Regions from separate parts of the Homo sapiens genome. Here all the other regions are linked to region 2. The links are contacts of gene promoters, found by promoter capture Hi-C in blood cells and fetal thymus (Javierre and others, 2016). All regions are on one chromosome and are shown on one strand. The core of a region is centred on a gene start or on the middle of the fragment in contact, and the rest is flanking DNA. Distances in the headings are between cores, read along the strand shown. Region 1 overlaps LOC105370673 (a long non-coding RNA gene). Region 2 holds the start of RTL1 (retrotransposon Gag like 1). Region 3 overlaps LINC02320 (long intergenic non-protein coding RNA 2320). Region 4 has its middle 64 kb from the start of DIO3. Region 5 overlaps LINC03117 (long intergenic non-protein coding RNA 3117). Region 6 has its middle 8.8 kb from the start of LINC00524. Region 7 holds the start of LINC02314 (long intergenic non-protein coding RNA 2314).

Region 1 (2,862 bases), core at 51-2,550, 620 kb before region 2:
CTGGGCTGTGCTTTACACCTGAAGTGGAACCCCTGCCCTTCCATCCTGCTCTCCTTCGAGGCCTGCAGATGCCATGTCCTCCACACCTGAGGATTCTGGAGGCCGGCAGGGCTTCTGGACAAATCTGAGCACTTGCACTCTGGAGGCCCTGCCACAGTGGCTACTGCCCACCACGGACGATTCTGTAGACCCTGCTTAGAAGAGACTGGCCATCCAGAACAGCTCTGCTCCCACCCGGAGACTCAAGACTCCGCTCAGGAGTTCAGACTGTCTGGCAGCAGCTGTGGACTGCAGGGGTGATGGCCGTGGCTGGCACCTGAGGCTGCAGCTCTCAAGACCTTGGTCCGAAGGATGGGGGCTTCCACTCCCAACTGTGAGCTCACTTGCTGGGAAACTTGCCACACCCAGTGTCTGGACATCAGATGAACTTGCAGCCTCTTCCTTCCTTTCCCTTTCCGGTATTTTATTGGTGGAGGGCCATGGGCATCAGACATGTGGGTTTTGGGGAGGGAGGTAACGGCAGAGTGGGGTTGGTGAGTATCAGCCCCTCCTGCGAGCTGTGGGTGCTGCTGTGTGTTAGACATCCCTGCTAGCTCCCTGTCCCACATGAGCCCCCGGGTCCTCACTGGGCACTGGCCTCATTCTCTTCTGGGATCTCCCAGGCCCTGCACACAGTAAGTGGGCAGCACACAGTCACGATGGCCACTTTTAACCCCACCGCCTTGATCAAGACCTGGAGAGCTGGGGCATCAGAGCGGGGGTCGACAGACTCGGAGGCCAACTGGCCTGGGGTTGAGCTATTGTTGCCGACATGGAACCCGATCCAGTGATTAATGGGTCCAGGAAATGATCCCTAGCTCAGCTGGCCAGTCCGGGCAGCCTGGCAGCACGGGCCCACGCGGTTCAGGGGATGGCCAGGAAGGCCTGCCGTGGGAGGGCTGGCGGGGGTGGCTGGCTGAGCTGTGGCTACAATGCTGGGGCCATGGGGGTCTGGGGGGGTATGGACCAAGGGCCCCTTTCCAGGAATGCAATGCCCGGCTCCCTCCCTTCTCCCGTGTCTCCTAACAGGGCCCCCCGCCCCTCTCAGTTCCTCCAGGCTTCCTGCCCACAGCTCTGGACCGCTGGTGCCAATGTGGAGGCAGACAGCTGGCTCCCTAGCCATCCCTGAAACCTGTCCGAGCCCCTCCCCCACCTCCTGATTCTAGATGTCCTCATCCCCACCCCCACGCTCAAAGGCTCCGGGAGTCTCCCGGGGCACCCCTTTGCACACTGTGGAGTCCTGTGGCCACCCTAGTCGCACGCTGTCCATCCCTGGGGGTAGAACTTGAACATCCAGGGTGAGGGGTCCAGGTTCCAGGCCCCGGGGCCAGGCCAGGCAGCCAGGAAGGTGCCCTGAGCTTCGGTCCTTCAGGGCTTGGCACGAGTGAACGTCTTCCCAGGCCATTGTGTTGCAATCCTTCTTGGCCACCGACCTCTGTTTCTCTGGCAATTGCAGGATTTTGCCGCTGTGATTTGGGCAATGTTTTTTTCCTTCTAAATCACCACTCTGGAAGAAGGGACTCAGCTCAGAATGAGCTGGCTTCCATTGTTTCACTTCTTTCCACAAACAGCTCCACAGCTCCCCGCTAGGTACCCGTCCAAGTGTTTCCAGGCATAATGGCAGCCCAGGGGTCACCCTGAGGTGGGGCTGCGGCTAGGGCTGCGTGGTTCCCTGGGTTCTGCAGGTCTGACCTCTTGGGCCTGGAGGTTTCCAGGGCGTAGCGTTTGGGCTGCTTCTTGAAGCCCGCTCTGCTCGTGCGCCTGCTCTGGTTGAGCACTTCCCGAGCGCCTGCTGTGTGCGGGGCACAGGCCTGGCGCTGGTCTCCAGTATCATTCTAGCCCCACCCTGAGCACTCAGAGGAGCAGACACCTGACGAACGAACGGCAGGACTGGGCTTCCAGGCTGGGTCTGCACCCCCAGCCCCCGCCTCACATCACTGCGTGCTCAGGGAAGGCGAGCCCGGCCCTGGTAGCTGGGATTCCTCCCAGGTGCACGTCCTTCACAGTTTCTGAGTCCTTCTCAGAGCCGCTGTGATCTAGGGCGCCGCTGCAGACTCTGAAGTCCACTTAGTGATGACTTATTCCCATTCCACGCATCAGTGGCCTCGGGCTCAGAGAGGTCAAGGTGCTTACACAAAGCCGCACAGCTGTAAGTGATGGGGCAGGGGCTGGACACCAGATCTGTGTGACTCCTGGTGTGAAGAAGGCCAAACTGGGGCATCACCACCAGCCTCTGTCCCAGGTGGGAGGTTGGGGAACAGCCCCGCTGTACGTGAAGGGCCTGGTCATGTCTGGCCTCTCAAGGTGCCCCCCAAAACGAACCCCTCCGTCTCCATCCCACTCAGTTACGGTGGGTGACTGGGGACTTGCGGGGACATGAGCCTGAGCTCATGTTTGGTTCCAGTGATGGGGAAACTGAGGTCAAGATGGAGCAGGGTGGGGTTGTGATGTCCTAGGCCCTTCCAGTGCTGCCGTCCCAGGATCTCAGTGACGTCTTTTTCTGGGCCCCATGATGTTTGCAGCAACACCAAAAGGCCTCTCTGCTCCTTCCTCATGAGATCTTGGGCTCTGTCCAAGGCCAACTGAAGACTGGAAATGGCAAAGAAAAGTTGGTCCCTGTCATCCTCAAGGGGACCCGATGCTGTTGGGATTCTTGGCTCCCCACATCTGCCTTCCATGACCTCGCTGTCACCCCGGTAGTGGACAGAGGGGAAGAGGGAGTCGTGGCAGCACTAGACGCAGGCACCGTCCTCGCCCCCTCACTTCTGCCTGGGCCGGCGATTGTTCTGGCCCCACTACCTGGCAGGGCTGAAGGCAGAGGTT
Region 2 (2,795 bases), core at 72-2,571:
TAGCCCTCCTTTCCGTCCTTCATAGGCTGCAAGCTGACTGGCGCCCGACCCCAGGTCCACACCCACCTCCCTCTACCCCCTGGTCCATGCACCACTCCCGGCCTCCTCCCCCACTCTTCTCTTTCTGGCCCCGCTGCAGAGTCTCGGGCCCCTCGGCTTCCTGGGCGCCTGGCCACCACGCAGCGCCTGGAAGTGCTCCCTCCCTCATCTCTCGTTCCCCACTTTGGAAAGCCGGCCACCGGACAGGACAGCTCCCGGGACAGCTCCCGCAGCCTGCTGCATTGCAGCGCAGCCGTCTGTGAGGGAGGGGCGCAACCTGCAGCCCCCGCCCCCCGCCCCGACCACCCCCGCCCAGCAGCCCCCAGCCCCGGCACGGCCGGCTCCCCCGCCGCACCGCACGCATCTGTCGCAGTTAAAAGCGCCGCTGCCAGAGCAAAAGCGCCGGTCCCTCTTGACTGTCCCCCTCCTCACTTTTCGGGCTCAGAAATGTGGCCCAGGCAGCCCCCTTGTGGCACGTGGGGGCGCCACAGACTCTTGGCTGGTGTCTGAAGAATTCAGACTGTCTGATTCCACCGCACCGTGAGTTGGCACAAATCTTCGGTGGCCCAACTCCTACCCGATGCAGAACTCTGCTCAGCGGCCTCTCTGAGTGGGGGGCACCTCTCCCCTCCCCTCTCCCCGTCCACACCTCTCCCTTCTCCCTCCAGGGAGGAAGCGAAGGAACTCTCCTGTTGAATATTGCTCTGACAAGCAGACAGGTGTCTGGCAAACGTGATTGGGGTGGTGGGGGAAGGGGGGGGCCAGGAGGGTGGTGGGAATGGGGGCTTTTCTCGAAATGACGTTTGGTTTCCATCTCTTATCTCACAGATGGGAAACCGAGGTGCGGGGAGGGCCATAGTCCCTGTCTGTGTCAGAGTCAAGGCTGGAGATCCTCCTCCAAGTCCAGCCTGGGGCATTTCCCTGAGGTGCCGGGGCACCCTTAAGACGTACCCCTCTTCCCCCTCCCACTTGTCCAGCCCCTCCAGATCTGGTTCTCCCCGTCCGGAAGCCCTGGAGGGCCCCTGGATGTTCTCTGTCCTCTCTAACTCACTGTCCACACAAACAAGCCCAGCCCCCTCCGTCTCTATCTGCAATCTACTTGCAGACAGGCAGGGCCCTCTCCACATCAGGTTAATAATGCCATTTTCATAAGCCTCTGCCCATAGGTGCTACCACCTAATTTTGAATCTGCCCTTCAAACGGATTGGGCCACAGAGGAGCTGGGATCTCAAGCACCGCTGGGAGGTGCTTATAACTAATCAATCCGTCCCCTGCCCACCCACACCCCCCCAGCACTCGGCACAGCCTCGCTGAGCAGCCTTCAGCAGCAGGGTGTGGTGGGGAGCCTCGGAGAGTCTGGGGTTCCATCCTGGCCCAGCCTCACACCAGCTGAGAGACGGTGAGTATAGGACTTTGCCTTTCTGTGCCTCAGTTTCCTCATCAATCTAATGGGGCTCATGAGACCAGTGTGCAGGGTTATTGCCCGGGTGAGTTCTTTGCAGACAGCCCAGTTCGGGACTTGGCTCCAAGACGGGGCTCCATAAATCTCCATGCCTGCACCCCCTCTTGATCACCTCAATTTCCAGTGTCTTATTCCCTGTTTGTTTCCCCCACCAGACCGACTGAGCTTCGAGGACAGGAAGCCACCGGCATCACTAAGCCACCGGCATCACTTCATCCCCAGCCTCACGCTTGGGACTGGGCCCGGGGAAGGTAGGTACACTGTGGTGGCTTGGAGAATGAGTGCATGGATGGATGTCTGTCCCATAGTCTATGGGATGCCCGGACCCCGCTGAGTTTCTCCTCCCCAGACCCCTGTCTAAGCTGGCCCTTCAAGGAAGCCGCCGGGAAAAACTGTTCCTTTATGCCTTCATGCTTTACCCCTCGTGCTGTTATATACAATGCAAATTCTCGGTCTATTAAATGCAGATGTGGGCTCTGCATGTCATTTATGCTGCCTGCTGCATCTACTGTGAGTTCCACAGGCCGGGGGCTGCCTCCGGCTGACTTGATTTGTGCGATTAAGCCAGCAGAGGGGACTCTGCCAGGAGAGGTTCCCGTTTGTATTGGGAGCAGGGTCTTGAAAGGCCAGGCTGTTTTCTCTCTTGCGACACTTGTTACATACCTCTCTCTCCCTCCCTGGGTCCCACCGTCTACTCCACAAGCATTTATGAAGTGTCTGATGTGTGCAAGCCTACACTTATCTCATTTAGTCCTCACTTCACGCCAGTGACGGAGAAACTCTCATCTCCATTTCACAGGGGAAAAGCCGAGTCTGAAAAGTAAAGGGAATTGTCTTGCAGCTAGAGAGCAGGGAGTCAAGCCGGTCTGCCTGGCTCGGGAGCCCCCAGCCCTGCTGTGGCTGCCTACTGCTGCTGCTGCTGCTGCTGCTGCTACTGCAGGGCTGACCAGGGCTGGCCGGGAGGCCAGCAGCTCCTGCAGAAAAGGCAGGGGGCTGCATACAGAGCGTTCTCCCTAGCAACTGGAAAAGGGGCCATAGAAAACCCAAGAGGGCTGAGAAGCCGCTCAACAGATAGACATGGAGCAGCTGGCCCCAGGAGGGGAGCACCACGCCCTCCCCTGGGCTTTTAGCAGAACAGCAGGGCAAAGGGCTCTGTCCCAGGTCTAAAAGAACAGAGACAGAGGTGTTAGGACAGGTGTAGAGGCGCCCAATCCTGTTCCCACCATTGGTGGGGGTATTGCCATTCAGCACAGAAAGGAGAGGACTGAAAAGAGAGGGAGCCCACAGCCTGCAG
Region 3 (2,700 bases), core at 92-2,591, 750 kb before region 2:
TTTTTTTTTTGAGACAGGGTCTCGCTCTGTCACCCAGGCTGGAGTGCAGTGTTGCCATCTCGGCTCACTGCAACCTCCGCTTCCCGAGCCAAGTGATCCTCCAACCTTAGCCTCCTGAGTAGCTGGGACCACAGGCATAAGCCACCATGCCTGGCTCATTTTTGTATTTTTTGTAGAGACAGGGTTTCTCCATGTTGTCCAGGCTGACCTTGAACTCCTGAGCTCAAAGTGTTCCACCCACCCCAGCCTCCCAAAGTGCTAGGATTACAGGTGTGGGCCACCACAAATGGCTAGGAAGCCAATTTCATAATGATAAAGATTTCAATTCACCAAGAGAACAAAAACAATTCTAAATGTTAATGCACCTAACAAAAGAGCTCTAAAATGCATGAAGAAAATCTGATAGAACCAGAAGGAGAAATAGACACAGTGAAAATCAGAGATTTCAATACCTCTTTTTCAATAATTTTTGAGAGCAATTAGATAGAAAGTCAGTATGAATATGAAAACTTGAACAATGCTATTGATAACTTGAACTAATTGACATTTATAGGACACTCTACTCAACAACAGGAGGACACACTTTTTTAAAAATACAGAATGTTTACCATATTTGACTATATTGTGAGCTATAAAACAAATCTCAACATATTTAAAATGATTCAAGTCATATCAATACAGGCATACCTCTGAGGTATTGTGGGTTTGGTTCCAGATCACCACAATAAAATGGATATTGCAATAAAGTGAGTCACATGATTTTTTTGGTTTCCCTGAACAAATAAAAGTATGTTTACCCTATTCTGTAGCTTTCAAGTGTGCAATAGCATGATATCTAAAAAGCAATGTACATATCTTAATTCAAAATACTTCATTGCTAAAAATGCTAACTATCATCTGAGCCTTCAGCAAGTCATAGTCTTTTTGCTGGTGGAGGATCTTACCTTGATGTTGATGGCTGTTGACTGATCAGGGTGGTGGTTACTGGCAGTGGTTGTGGCAATTTCTTTCTTTCTTTTTTTTTGAGATAGGGTCTCACTCTTTACCCAGGCTAGCATGCAGTGGCACAATCATAGTTCACTGCAACCTCAAACTCCTGGGTTCAAGGGATCCTCCCACCTTAGCCTCCTGAGTAACTGGGACTACAGGCATGTGCCACTGTGTCTGGCTGATTTCTTTAATTTTTTTGTAGAGTCAAGGTCTCTTTTTATTGTCCAGGCTGGTCTGGAACTCCTGGCCTCAAGTGATATTCCCCACTTGGCCTCCCAAAGTGTTAGGATTACAGGCATGAGCCATTGTGCCTGGCCCAATTTCTTAATATGAAACAAGAATGAAGTTTGTCACATTGATGGACTTTTCCTTTCATGAAAGATTTCTCTGTAGCTTGTGATGCTATTTGGCAGCATTTTACCCACAGTAGAACTTTCAAAATTGGAGTCAGTCCTCTCAAAGCCTGCCACTGTTTTATCAACTGGGTTTATGGAATATTCTAAATCCTCTGTTGTCATTTCAACAGTGTTCACAGCATCTTCACCAGGAGTTATTCCATTTCAAGAAACCACTTTATTTGCTCAGCCATAAGAACCAACTCCTCATCTGTTCAAGTTTTCTCATGAGATCGTAGCAATCCAGTCACATCTTTAGGCTCCACTTATAATTCTGGTTCTCTTGCTATTTCTATCATATCTGCAGTTCCTTCCTCTACTGATGTCTCGAACCCCTCAAAGTTATCCATGAGGGTCGGGACCAACGTCTTCCAAACTCTTGTTTTATTTTGAGACAAGGTCTCACTTTGTCACCCAGGCTGGAGGTCAGTGGTGTGATCTTGGCTCACTGCAGCCTCGACTTCTGGGCTCAGGTAATCCTCCCATCTCAGCCCCCAAAGTAGCTGGGACTACAGGTGCACGGCACCATAGCCAGCTAATTTTTGCATTTTTAGTAGAGATGGGGTTTTACCATGTTGTCCAGGCTGGTCTCAAACTCCTGGACTCAAGCCATCCGCCCTCCTCAGCCTCCCAAAATGCTGGGATTACAAGCACGAGCCACTGTGCCCGCCCAAACTCCTGTTAATGCTGCTATTTTGACCTCTTCCCATGAATCACAAATGTTCTTAATGGCATCTAGAATTGTGAATTCTTTCCAGAAAGTTTTCAATTTACTTTGCCTAGCTCCATCAGGGGAAGCATACCTACGGCAGCTATAGTGTTATGAAACGTGTTTCTTAAATAACAAGACTTGAAAGTCAGAATTACGCTTTGACTCATGGGCTGCAGAATGGACGTTGTCCTAGCAGGCATAAAAACATTAATCTCCTTGTACACCTCCATCAGAGCTGTTGGTTGACTACAGGCACTGTCATGAACAGTAATATTTTGAGAGAAATTTGAGCATGGGTCTCAAGAGTGGCTTTAAAGTATTCAGTAAGCCATGCTGTAAACGTGCTGTCATCCAGGTTTTGTTGTTCCATCTAGAGAACACATGCAGAGTAGATTTAGCATAATTCCCTAGGATTTGCAGAATGGTAAATGAACACCGGATTCAACTCAAAGTCACCAGCTGCATTAGCCCCTGCCAAGAGTGTCAGCGTGTCCTTTGATGTTTCAAGCCAGCATTGACTTCTCTTCTGTAGCTATGAAAGTTCTAGATGGCATCTTCTGCCAATATAAGGCCGTTTCATTTACATTGAAAATCTGTTGTTTA
Region 4 (2,700 bases), core at 12-2,511, 720 kb before region 2:
TCTGGTATATACCTATTGAGGACTTTTTTCCCAAGCAAATACTCAGAAAGAGACTTCCTCCCAATAGGCATGAGATCTTACTCCACGTGCAGTTTGTCTTATCTTGATTTTTTTCCAGTAATCTTTTAAGAGTTTCCCATGCCATGTAGTCATTCTTCAAAAACCCACTTTGAACAGCTGCGTAATATTCCGCTGTGGAGGAGTGCCCTGCAGTGTAGAGAAATGAGTTATTTACGCTGAAGTCTGTTATTACATGGACATCTTCCCTTTTCTGACCCTGCAATGACCACACTCATAGGTGAGTCTCTCTGGAAATCCTTGACTACCTCCTTAGGGTCCATTCTTAGAAGTGGAATTACTGGGTTAGAGGGCATGAGTGCCTTGAGGGCGGCTGTCTCCCTCTACCTGCATGCCTGCCAGGGCAAACCCGTGCATGCTCCCAGGACAGGCCTGGCAGGGCGTGTCTCCCTGCTGCACCCTTGGTACCCTTGGCAGGGCTAACATTATCCTCTAAACCAGGTCTTTGCAGCACTTACCCTTTTCAAGGTGCTACTGTACCTCTCCTTTAAGGAGGGTTCATCCCGGGAATCGTGAAACACAGGCAGGCTGGTCCTCTTCTCACAACTTCATGATGGATAGACTGAGGCCCACTGAGGCCAAATGCACTTGACTCAGAAGGTTTTAGAATCTTTTTTGGATCCCATTTGGATCCCACACCATTGAAGCCTCCTTGTGTTTCAGATTATGGGGAAAGGCTCAATGATATGTCCCAGGAGAGTGCTGTCTCTGAAGTCTACCCAGCCACAACCCATCCACAAACTCATCCACAAACCTATTCATTCTGGAACTCATCCACTTACCCTCCACCCATCCATTCATCTCAGGACTCATCCACCTATCCATCCACCCATCCATTCACACTGGAACTCATCTATCCATCCATCCATCCATCCATTCACCCACCCACTTAACCATACATCCACCTATCCATCTGTCGATCCATGCATCCATCCATCTATCCATCCATCCATCCATCCATCCATCCATCCATCCATCCATCCATCCACCCACCTACTTAACCATCCATCCACCTATCCATCTGTCAGTCCATGCATCCATGCATCCATCCATCCATCCATCCATCCATCCATCCATCCAATCATCCATCCATCCACCTACCTACTCATCCACTAAAAAATATTGGTTGAGAACCAACTCTGACTCAGGCCCAGGTGCAGGAAATTTTGCATGAACAGCTCTGGCTTTTACAGGCAAGGTAGACCTTAAAGAGCAAGCACAGTTGCAGTGACTCATCTGCAAGGTGAAGGTTAGGTATTATGGGAGCACAGGACAGGGAGCTCAGACCTTCCTGAGAAGGGTGGACCAGGCCCCACTGGCACTCTTTGTGTGACCTTGGTGGAGTCCCTGCCTTTCTCCTGCCCTGCTCCCTATGCTGAGCCACAGAGGAAAAGCCATAACTTACATATTGGCTAGAAAGCATAGTTGGCCAGGGGGAAGTTGGCCACTTTCTGGGAAGCAGAAAGTGGGCAGGGAGGCCCAGCCCCTGTGCTGACATCTGTGTGGCAGTTATTCTCAGGGGTCTTGAGAGAATTAGAACAAACACAGAGGTCAGTGCCAGGCACCACTGTCACGGGGCCATGAACTCTTCATTGTTATTGCTTATTATTATTATTAGTAGTAGTAGTACTAACACTTTCTGAGGTTTTTTTCATCGGCCAGGCATCATGCTGAGAACTTTCAGATATTGGTTCATTTAATCCTCCCTTAGCCCTGTCAGGTAGGCAGAAATTGTTACTCTCACTTTACAGATGAGAGCATTGAGGCACAGAGTAGTTATGTAACTTGCTCAGGGTCACAGCCAGTAGGTGTGCGCAGCCTGTGCCTTGTGGCTTTGCTGCATGCCCTGCCCTTCTTGTTCTTGTTACTGCAGGCACCTACAGTGGGGCATTTAGGGAGCCTGACTTGCCCAGGGACCCACTGAAGAATCCAGGCCCCATCCCTAGAGTAGCATGCACAGGAATCTCCCTGCCCTGCCCCGGCCTCTGCAGTGTGAGGTCAGGCGTCTCCTTCCTCCACAGGCCCTGGACTAGCACGCACGGGAGCCTCCCTCCAGGCCCCATCCCTGGAGTAGCATGCGTGGGAGTCTCTCTGCCCTGCCCTGGCCTCTGCAGTGTGCAGTCAGGCCTCCCCTTCCTCCACAGGACCCCATAAAGGGAGGAGGGGAAGCACGTGTGACCCTGCACACTTCTCCCACCCTCTCTGAGCCTTTGTTCCTGAGGGGCCTCGGGGGAAACCATGGATGTGAAAGAATGCTGCGGAATGCAGCGCAGGAGTGAGGCTGCAATGGTCACTCGCTCACTCAGTGGGTGCACATGCTCTGCCCTGCTCACAGCAGGCCCCTTCTCGGCACTGGGGTTCCAGTTGTGAACAAGAAGGTCAGAATCCTGATCTCAGGGCGCTGACAATCTAGAGAGGGAGGCAGACAGTGAGCAGTGCGATCATGACCGAATGCAGGGTGAAGGTGCAGTGCTGCGGAGAAAATCTGGGTGACGGGATGGAGACTAACGGGAAGGGGGGTCCCACAGGAGCCAGGCTGGAGAGGAGATATTTAAATGGAATGAATACAGGGACCATACAATGTGCCTGGGGATGGGAGGGGGAAGAGAGAGAAGAGAGGAC
Region 5 (2,715 bases), core at 185-2,684, 560 kb before region 2:
CTCACGCCTCCAGCCCCTTGCTGCAGCCACACTGGCCTCAGTTACACTGGCTCCTTCCTGCTCCTCATCTGTACAGGGCCAGGTCCTGAATTAGGGGGGCCTTTGTACATACAGGCACCAGAACATTCTTCCAGAGCTTCACTGGAGCCTTCCTCTTCAGCATGACCGTCCCTGGCCACCTGATCCAGAGCTGGCGGCTCCCAGGCATAGCCCATCCCTGCTGCGGCTCTGCACTGCCCCAGTCCTCACCTGCATGCAGGGGACTATTCACATGCTGACCGTCTGTCCATCTCCCGTAAGAACGTCGGCTCCTTCCACGTCTGCTGGGCGTGGAGGATCCCTCACAGCCTCCCCGACCTCAGAGCCATGAGAGACTTGCAAAGCTTGAAACAAACTCTGAAAGGACTCTTCACAGATAAATTCCTCCAGGTGCATGTTTCAAACAATTTTATTATCTAACCCAAGAGTAAGTTAGCAATCGATTTCCTAATCTTTATTGATTGGCAGTGGGCAGGCTAGTGTGATTAAAGATGTGAGAGAGACTTGCCAAATAAAATGCATGAGCAGCCTTCATGAGCTTAGCTCCAATGTGCAGAGTGATAGGGTCAGGGAAGTGTGTGTATGTGTGCATGATTGTGTGAGATCAGGGTAGTGTGTGTGTGTGTGTGTGTGTGTGACATCAGGGCAGTGGGTGTGTGAGAGAGATCAGGGCAGTGTGTATGTGTATGTGTGAGATCAGGGCAGTGTGCGTGTGTGTGTGTGTGTGACATCAGGGCAGTGTGTCTGTGTGCATGAGTGTGTGAGATCAGGGCAGTGTGTGTGCATGAGTGTGATATCAGGGCAGTATGTGTGTGTCTGTGTGTGTGTGTATGATATCAGGGCAGTGTGTGTGTGTCTGTGTGTGAGGTTAGGGCAGTGTGTGTTTGTGTGCATGAGTGTGTGAGATCAGGACAGTATGTGAGAGAGAGAGATCAGGGCAAAGGGCAGTGTTTGTGTGAGATTAGGGCAGAGTGTGTGTGTGTGTGTATGAGATCAGGGCAGTGTGTGTGTGTGTGCATGAGTGTGTGAGATCAGGGTAGTGTGTGTGTGTGACATCAGGGCAGTGTTTGTGTGTTTGTGTGAGATCAGGGCAGTGTGTGTGTGTGCACGAGTGTGTGAGATCACGGAAGTGTGTGTGTCAGGTCACCACAGTGTATGTGCGGGTATGCGTGTGTGTGTGCACAGGGAACACACGGACAGCCATTCCAAGTACACACTCTCCTTGGGTAAATCTGTGAGTAATCATTGCTCCAGCAGTGAGAGCCCGTGAGGGTGGTGCAGGAAGACTGTGGCCTGCCTCCTGAGGGAAGCATTAAAAAAACAGTCAAAGGAAAACGAACTCAGCTCTCCCAGGGTGGAGGACGTGGAGGTGGGCAGCCAGGGAACAAATCTGGTTGCTGCGAGCCTGTCAGAAAGGGCCCTAGTGCCCTGCCAGGAGGAAGGACTCTGGGCCATGAGCATGATGGTCTTTGAAGGCCAGGAGAGCTAGCCTACCCCAGCTCTGCCACTAACTGTGCGACTCACGGTCACATGATGATACCTCCTGGGCCCCATATACTTTATCTGCAAATGGGAAGAAGCACAGCCTCTGTGTCCACAGTGCTGTTGAGGTTGGATCGGGGCTAACTGGCAATCAGACATGTGTCTATAAATGCCGGCGAGCCAGGCAGAGCCCAGGCCTGAGAGTCCACCAGGGTGGCAGGCCTTAATCCGCGCTGCACAGATCTGTGAGTCCCAAAATCTGCAGTGGGGCTTGAGGAGGAGCTGGCCCAAGGAGAAGACTGGAGTGGAATTGGAAGGGGGGAGGAGGATTTTACTGGAGGGCTACTGGGGGGTAGGGGAGAAGACATCTTGGGCCCCAGGGAGGCACAGGATCAAAAGTGACAGATGACTGTCAGGTGCTAGCCTGGGCAGACACATTGAGTCAAGACCTCATCTGGTACATGATCTCGCTGAATCCTCTCTAAGACCCTAGCAGGGAGTTGTCCTCCTCATTCTAAGAGGAAGAAGCAGAGGCTCCAGCTCAGGAGGGGAGGTGGCCTCTCAATGTCATAGTAGGAAGTGGTGGCTAGGATTCCAGCAGGAGGTTCTGACTCCAGGGCTGGAAGTGGGGGCAGGAGATGCAGCAGGAAGGAACTGCGGGTCTCCCTCCACTCAGGCTTAACCCACACAACCTCAGCTCTAAAGGGTGGTCTGCAAGCTCCACGCTGCAGCCCATTAGGATCATGGGATTGTTTCAGGGGTGGCAGCCATTATTTGGAAAAAAGAAATAGGATGAACAGAGATCAGCATTCATGACGTCTAGTAAGAGAACCATTCTTTTGCAAAAATTGTGTTTTGGTTATCTAGGTATAGTTAATTAATTATTTTATACATAGTTGTCTGGCTTGCCGTGGGCTGAGATGCACAATGTATTTCTTACCCCAGCCACGGTCAGCAAGCTTTGAAAGCCACGGCTTTCAGGCTTTCTTGGTTCTGCAGGGGCCTCCGGGCCTTTGTTCTCTGAACAAGAACGCCAGTGCTGGGCACAGGACAGGAGCCAGGACCTGCTGGAGGATTTCCGCAACATGCCCCTTCCCACACATCAACGCAGCTGGCTAGGCAAGGCACCATCTCATGGGGTCCTAGAACTTGGGGTGTCAATGTTTGGCTGCAGCATGGGGGGTGCTAAACACG
Region 6 (2,700 bases), core at 86-2,585, 510 kb before region 2:
TTAGAATTGGTCTTCATCTATTATTTTTCCCTTGTGGATAGGTCATTTTCTTGTCTCTCCTCTGTTGTGTAATTTTGGATCGTATCCTGGACATTGTGAATGCCATCTGGATTCTGTTATATTTCTCGGAAGAACACTGATTTTTTCAAAGGGCAGATAATTAATTTGATTGGACTCAAACTGAAAACTCTTTCCCCTGGAGCAGTTTGAATTTTAGTTCAGTTTTTTACACTTAGTTTAGCTGCTTTGAATCCACCTCTCACATATAAGGTTCAGATTTCACTTAGAAAATTTGGGGTGCTTCTTCTGTGCTTGTCTCTTTTCCAGAATTACTCCCTCATCCTCCAGTGACCCTAGTTGTTCTGAACTCTGTTGTCTTCAGCCCAGAAAAACAAAACGTTTTCTTTTAGAGATTCACTCACTTACATGGTGACAACTTTGACATGCCCTCAGGCTAAAAGCTATAAAAATGGGAATTTCACCTCTTGGCATTTTTTTTCCTCTAGCTTGCTGCTAGAGTCTTCCTGCTTTTTACTCACAGTCTAGTGAACAGAAGCCTTATTTTATATTTTTATCCAAAGTTGATAGTGGTTATCTGCAGGAAGGTCTAGGAGAAGCTTACTTGGCCATATAAGAAGAAAAATGACCCCACCTTTTCTTGAGGTTATGTGCATTTTATTATTAGAGAACCTGCGCGGCATGTTTTCTTCTTAAAAACAATGCCTAAACTCCAAATAGATCAAGGTCAAAGGAAGCGAGGAGTTCAACATGACATCAGTCCCGTTTTCCAAGTCCTGGCCCACTTTGGTTTTTATAAGAAAGATAGAAAATAGACTTTTTTTTCAGAATTTACAAAATTTTCTATTGCTTGGTAAATCTTTATTGAATTATACATTAGATCATAATATGGGCATCTTCTATATCATAAAATAGTTTTTAAAATGCAGTTTTTGATGTCTACATACCATTTCATCATATGTTTTATGTTACTTAGCTATTTTCTCATTGTAAACTTATATAGTTTCTATATTTCTGCCAGCATCAGTTACTATTCCAGATGTTCAAACATCTTTAAACATAAACCTTTGATGACATATTTGACTACAGAAGGAACCCTCATAATCACTGTTTCCCTGCATTGTTTTGCTGGATTCGCTGACGTCTTCTATGCCTTCGGTAAATATGCCGCTTGCATCGGGAAGCCTCAGTCTTCCTTCTCCCACTATTTGGAATATGGGCTTACCAAGAGTTAATTACCGTGTTTGTTCTCAAACCTGTTTATGACAGTTGTTGTGATGTCATTGGTTGGAATACTAACCTGTGAAATATGAGTGAGAAAAGAAAGAGGGTGGTTGCTTCCATATAAACTATAAAAACTAAGTAGAATGCTTTGGGGAGATGCAATAAAGTGAAGTAATAATACAGTTGCTATAAAACTAGATTATGAGCCAGGAAACTGAACAATTTGAGAAAATAAAATGGTAAAATGGAGAAAGTGTCTACTGTCACATTGTCCTCCAAATATTTAAGTTTGTGTTCCACTTTAAAGAAACCAAAACTCAAAATTAAGAGCATGAATTATATAGGCGTGTTTTGTGCAAGAAAGAGGGCACATAATTCCAATCAGAACATGAGTGATACTCAGAGAAGAGCCTTGGTCCTTTATTGCAAGACTGGTGAGAAAATTCATATTTTTATATTGTAACTTATAACAACGTATTTATGGTATATTTGCACCATTGTTTAAGATTTCCCTATTTAACTGGCTTTTCAATGAGCTGGGCAGATTCTCCAATTGCTGGTCCCAAAAGCATGAAAAAAGGATACTTTAATTGTGTTTCCTCAGGAGTCTTAGAAATGTAATTACTTTGTATAGTTTAGACTATTGTAGACTACTAATCCCTATTATCTAATTTCCCACTTTAATTGTATTTCCTCAGGAGAGATTCCTAGAAACATAATTACTGTGTATTGTTTAGACTATTGATACATATTATTTAATCTCATAGTAGTGAGGTTGTATCAATTTATGTTCTCACATAAATTAAGCTTTAAAGTTTGTGCATGAGCCACTAATGTCTTCTCTCCAGCTTCAACCAGCAGTTATACGGTAGACTGGGAGACTGGGTGACTCGGCCTGAAACTTCTTGAAAAATCTCTAAGGCTGTTCTTTGTTCCAATGAAATGGATTGGATTCCTTCTCTGTCGATACTGGACGTTTTTGTGTGAATTCTAGCCTCAGAATAAAATCCTAACCATAAAAACATAGAGATTGTTTACTAAACACAGCCCAAACTTCATCTATTGCTTTATAATATTCAGATGATCATAACTTTTATATGCTAGAAGGAACCATAGGGATCAGCTTAGTAAACCCTTTCTTTTATAATTTGAGTCCTGGAATGAGGCATAGAGAAAAGTGTTGTCTTCCATCCTGAAGCTTAGTGGCATCTCAGCGGAGCTCAGAGCTCAAGTCTCCGGACTGCTGTCTACTGACTCTTTTGTGTATATCATGTTGCTCTGGACGGCGAAGAGAAGCAATGCTAAAATGTACCACATGAAGTTCACATTTCCAAGGGGGGGCGGGCTGTGCAGAGTGTTGTCAGATAATGTCTATAATGTAAATCTACAATATGAGCTAACATTTAATGAATGCTTCAATGAGCCAGGTACTATTCTAAGTGCTTTACCTGGGTCAAA
Region 7 (2,700 bases), core at 108-2,607, 540 kb before region 2:
CTCAGTCTCCCGAGTAGCTGGGATTACAGGCGCCCGCCACCACGCCCGGCTAATTTTGCATTTTTAGATTCTCCATGTCGGTCAGGCCGGTCTCAAACTCCCGGCCTCAGGTGATCCGCCCGCTTCGGCCTCCCAAAGTACTGGGATTACAGGCGTGAGCCACCACGCCGGGCCTTCCCTAGGTTCTTAAATAACTGAGGAAGAATAACGAAGACCCAGGAAGAGATTCCAAAGAACACATGGCTAATTCACAGATAAGGGAGAAACACAATGTTTAAGAAATTCAGTAGCACCCAACAGCAGACTGAAAACAAGTTGGGAAGTGGACTCTCTCACGGAGCTCAAACACTCAGGCAGCATTTGCATCTCAGAAGTAATTTTTGAGAATTCATTTGAAGAAGGAAGGATTTTCCTTTCCTTTCCTTTCCTTTTACAGGATGGTTCCCCCTAATGAACTGTTTTAAGCGGACGAAAGAATTCATTTGGCACACTCTTGCTTAAAACCCACAGGAAAAAAAGCAAAGTTCTCTTAAGGATGTCAGCTCCAGACTAGAGCAGTCCGTTTGAAAAATCTTGGTTTTGAGAAAGTGGCAGAATTACATAATTATTCACAACTCATAAGACATTAAAATACTTCTTCCAAATATGAAGTTGTGAGATAACAAAAACCACAAATTCTAGACTTGCGGAGGGTGTGTGCATCTTTTACTCTCCCACACACAAACCCACATCAAAGAGTCTGGGTGGCGCTGGGCCGGAACTCGTGGCCGCGCTCGCCTTGGTGCGCCTGGGCCACAGGAGGAGGCTGCTGGGGCCGCTCTGCCGCCGCACCTCCCTGAAGGAGATCCGGGGGCAGTGGGGATGCTAAGGATGCAGCGCCGGAGAGGCAGGTGGCGGCCCCTGCGAAGAGGTGGTCCCCGCAAAGCACACGGAGACCACGAGGTTCCTTGTCGCCCACTCACAGCAATGCTGCACGAGGTGAGGAACGACCTGGAAGAGTCCCAAAGTAAAGGCATCGGGTGATGAGAGGAATCTGGGGGTGGAGAAGTGGTCAGACGAGCCCCAGGGCTCTGTCATTCTGGAAGGGAGCCCCTGCCCTGTCGTTCTGTGTGGGCATAACTTTGAAAATCAGGGCACTTCATTTAACAAGACTCATTTTTAAAAGCTCATGTTACCTGTTGAAAACCCAAGGGAGACTGGCCTTTGGCGGATGGATTAAGCGCCGCTCATTCAGTTCCATTTTACGGAAGGACCTGCCTCAGCCCCGTATGAGGCTGCGGGGATTCCAAAGTAAAGTCAAGGAGATGGGGTTCCTGCCTGCAAGGAGCTTCCCACCTAGCAGGGCCGTCCGGTGGGCAAACTGTGGGCACTGGATGAGCAAATAGTGCATTTTGCTGACGACAGGAGACGCAGGTGGCGGGGGGGTGCCCAGGAGCCCGAGAGGAGGGGTGTGGTGGAGGGCGGGAAAGGAGGGGTGGGGTGGAGGGCAGGAGACGAAGGGTGGGGTGGAGAGCGGGAGAGGAGGCTGAGCCCTGGAGCGTGGAGTGGGCATGGGCCAGGGACACCGAGAGAGCAGCCTGCGCAGAGACGATGGGGCAGCAGACAGGCCTGTGTGTCTGAGGAGGGGAGCCTCCAATGGAGAAGGCTGAGGAGTGGGTGCAGGCAGGAGACTGTTGAGACTGGCCGTGGGGAACCGCAGATGGGCGTCAGCTGGGGAAGACAGTCTAGCCGCACTGGAGAGGCAGGACTGTGGGGTCAGACGAGGGTGGGGCTGGCCTTCTGGGAGAACCCCAGAGGCTCAGCAAGAGGTACCACAGGGCTTGAGCTGTTGAGACGGAGAGAAATGCTGAGGATGTGGCCCGGACAGGGCCCAGAGGGACCCGGGCCTCCCTGCATAGGTGCTTGGCAGTGCCCTCTCAGTGGTGGTATCAACTCCTGGGCGAAGGCGAGAAGATGGCTGGTGAATACAGCCTGCAGGCAGGCAGCATATTTAATAAGATTAGGACTTGGGAGAAAAGTCCTGGGCTTGTAGGTGGGAGCTGAGGCCACCGCAGGGTGGGCGTTCCTGGACAGTGGGTATTTAGAGAGCAGAAGAGACCGCAGGAACAGCCCGAGATGACCCAGCCTCTAGAGGTGGGCTCAGGAGGTGGGGGAGGAGCAGCCGGGAGGGTGGGAGAAGCCCCCATGGGGAGCGGCACCACCACAAGACTGAGGCAGTGGTGGGAAGGCCACGGAGACCTCCCAGAAGAAAGGGCTGAAAAGTCTGTGGAATCCTCTGAGTCAGAAGGTCCTGGGAACCATTGCCCAAGCAATTCCTGAAGGCAGAAAGAAGCCTCATTGCATCGGGCTAAAATGAATGGAGCTGGAGGAGCGGGGATCTTGGAGGACCGAGTCTGTGGCTGACTCATTTCAGGGTCCACTGTAGTGCTTGGCACACAGTGAGTGCCCAATCCATACCTTCTAATTAGAAATATTTCCCTCTATTTCCACAGACCTCCATTAGCAATGCCCTTTCAGCAGTGTTAGCTTATTTAACATTTATAAAAGCATGTATCCTCGAAACAGGAGACAGGCTCATGAACTTGACCAAGGAAGAGCAAGTGATCAACTGCAGACCCATCCAATTGGTGTTTTTCCATTTTTCTCGTTGGTTGTCATAGCCTCCCCTGCCGAAGGCATCTTATCTTTGCTTGCATGTTA

The links. Contacts are between HindIII fragments. The CHiCAGO score rates a contact against its expected background, and 5 or more counts as called.
Region 1: a contact is called between a fragment that was not itself captured here and the fragment with the promoter of RTL1 in region 2, in 1 of 17 cell types (naive B cells). The highest score is 5.6, in naive B cells.
Region 3: a contact is called between a fragment that was not itself captured here and the fragment with the promoter of RTL1 in region 2, in 10 of 17 cell types (M2 macrophages, erythroblasts, naive CD4 T cells and 7 more). The highest score is 8.3, in M2 macrophages.
Region 4: a contact is called between a fragment that was not itself captured here and the fragment with the promoter of RTL1 in region 2, in 15 of 17 cell types (naive B cells, naive CD4 T cells, total B cells and 12 more). The highest score is 17.2, in naive B cells.
Region 5: a contact is called between a fragment that was not itself captured here and the fragment with the promoter of RTL1 in region 2, in 1 of 17 cell types (M0 macrophages). The highest score is 5.2, in M0 macrophages.
Region 6: a contact is called between a fragment that was not itself captured here and the fragment with the promoter of RTL1 in region 2, in 1 of 17 cell types (M2 macrophages). The highest score is 6.7, in M2 macrophages.
Region 7: a contact is called between the fragment with the promoter of LINC02314 here and the fragment with the promoter of RTL1 in region 2, in 2 of 17 cell types (M1 macrophages and M2 macrophages). The highest score is 6.7, in M1 macrophages.

What each region holds. Positions count from the first base shown.
Region 1 is chr14:101,519,742-101,522,603 of GRCh38, reverse strand. It overlaps LOC105370673 (a long non-coding RNA gene), which reads left to right. Exons shown (of 7, transcript XR_944222.2): 7 at 1-901. Among named protein-coding and RNA genes, the nearest start is that of DIO3OS, 39 kb to the left of the region's middle. RefSeq lists an enhancer at 1-334. The HindIII fragment of the contact is 5,992 bases long and covers 1-2,862 here.
Region 2 is chr14:100,902,248-100,905,042 of GRCh38, reverse strand. It overlaps RTL1 (retrotransposon Gag like 1), which reads left to right and starts at 1,321. Exons shown (of 4, transcript NM_001134888.3): 1 at 1,321-1,438; 2 at 1,657-1,752. The region is part of intron 5 of MEG8 (maternally expressed 8, small nucleolar RNA host gene); the gene reads right to left. The HindIII fragment of the contact is 7,837 bases long and covers 1-2,795 here.
Region 3 is chr14:101,655,620-101,658,319 of GRCh38, reverse strand. The region is part of intron 1 of LINC02320 (long intergenic non-protein coding RNA 2320); the gene reads left to right. Among named protein-coding and RNA genes, the nearest start is that of LINC00239, 73 kb to the left of the region's middle. The HindIII fragment of the contact is 3,632 bases long and covers 1-2,700 here.
Region 4 is chr14:101,624,268-101,626,967 of GRCh38, reverse strand. No RefSeq gene overlaps it. Among named protein-coding and RNA genes, the nearest start is that of DIO3, 64 kb to the right of the region's middle. RefSeq lists an enhancer at 2,619-2,700. The HindIII fragment of the contact is 4,222 bases long and covers 1-2,700 here.
Region 5 is chr14:101,461,999-101,464,713 of GRCh38, reverse strand. LINC03117 (long intergenic non-protein coding RNA 3117) reads left to right here. Exons shown (of 4, transcript XR_944220.2): 4 at 1-571. Among named protein-coding and RNA genes, the nearest start is that of LINC03117, 12 kb to the left of the region's middle. The HindIII fragment of the contact is 2,097 bases long and covers 386-2,482 here.
Region 6 is chr14:101,415,389-101,418,088 of GRCh38, reverse strand. No RefSeq gene overlaps it. Among named protein-coding and RNA genes, the nearest start is that of LINC00524, 8.8 kb to the right of the region's middle. The HindIII fragment of the contact is 1,432 bases long and covers 620-2,051 here.
Region 7 is chr14:101,440,733-101,443,432 of GRCh38, reverse strand. It overlaps LINC02314 (long intergenic non-protein coding RNA 2314), which reads right to left and starts at 1,357. Exons shown (of 2, transcript NR_135240.1): 1 at 1,176-1,357. The HindIII fragment of the contact is 14,900 bases long and covers 1-2,700 here.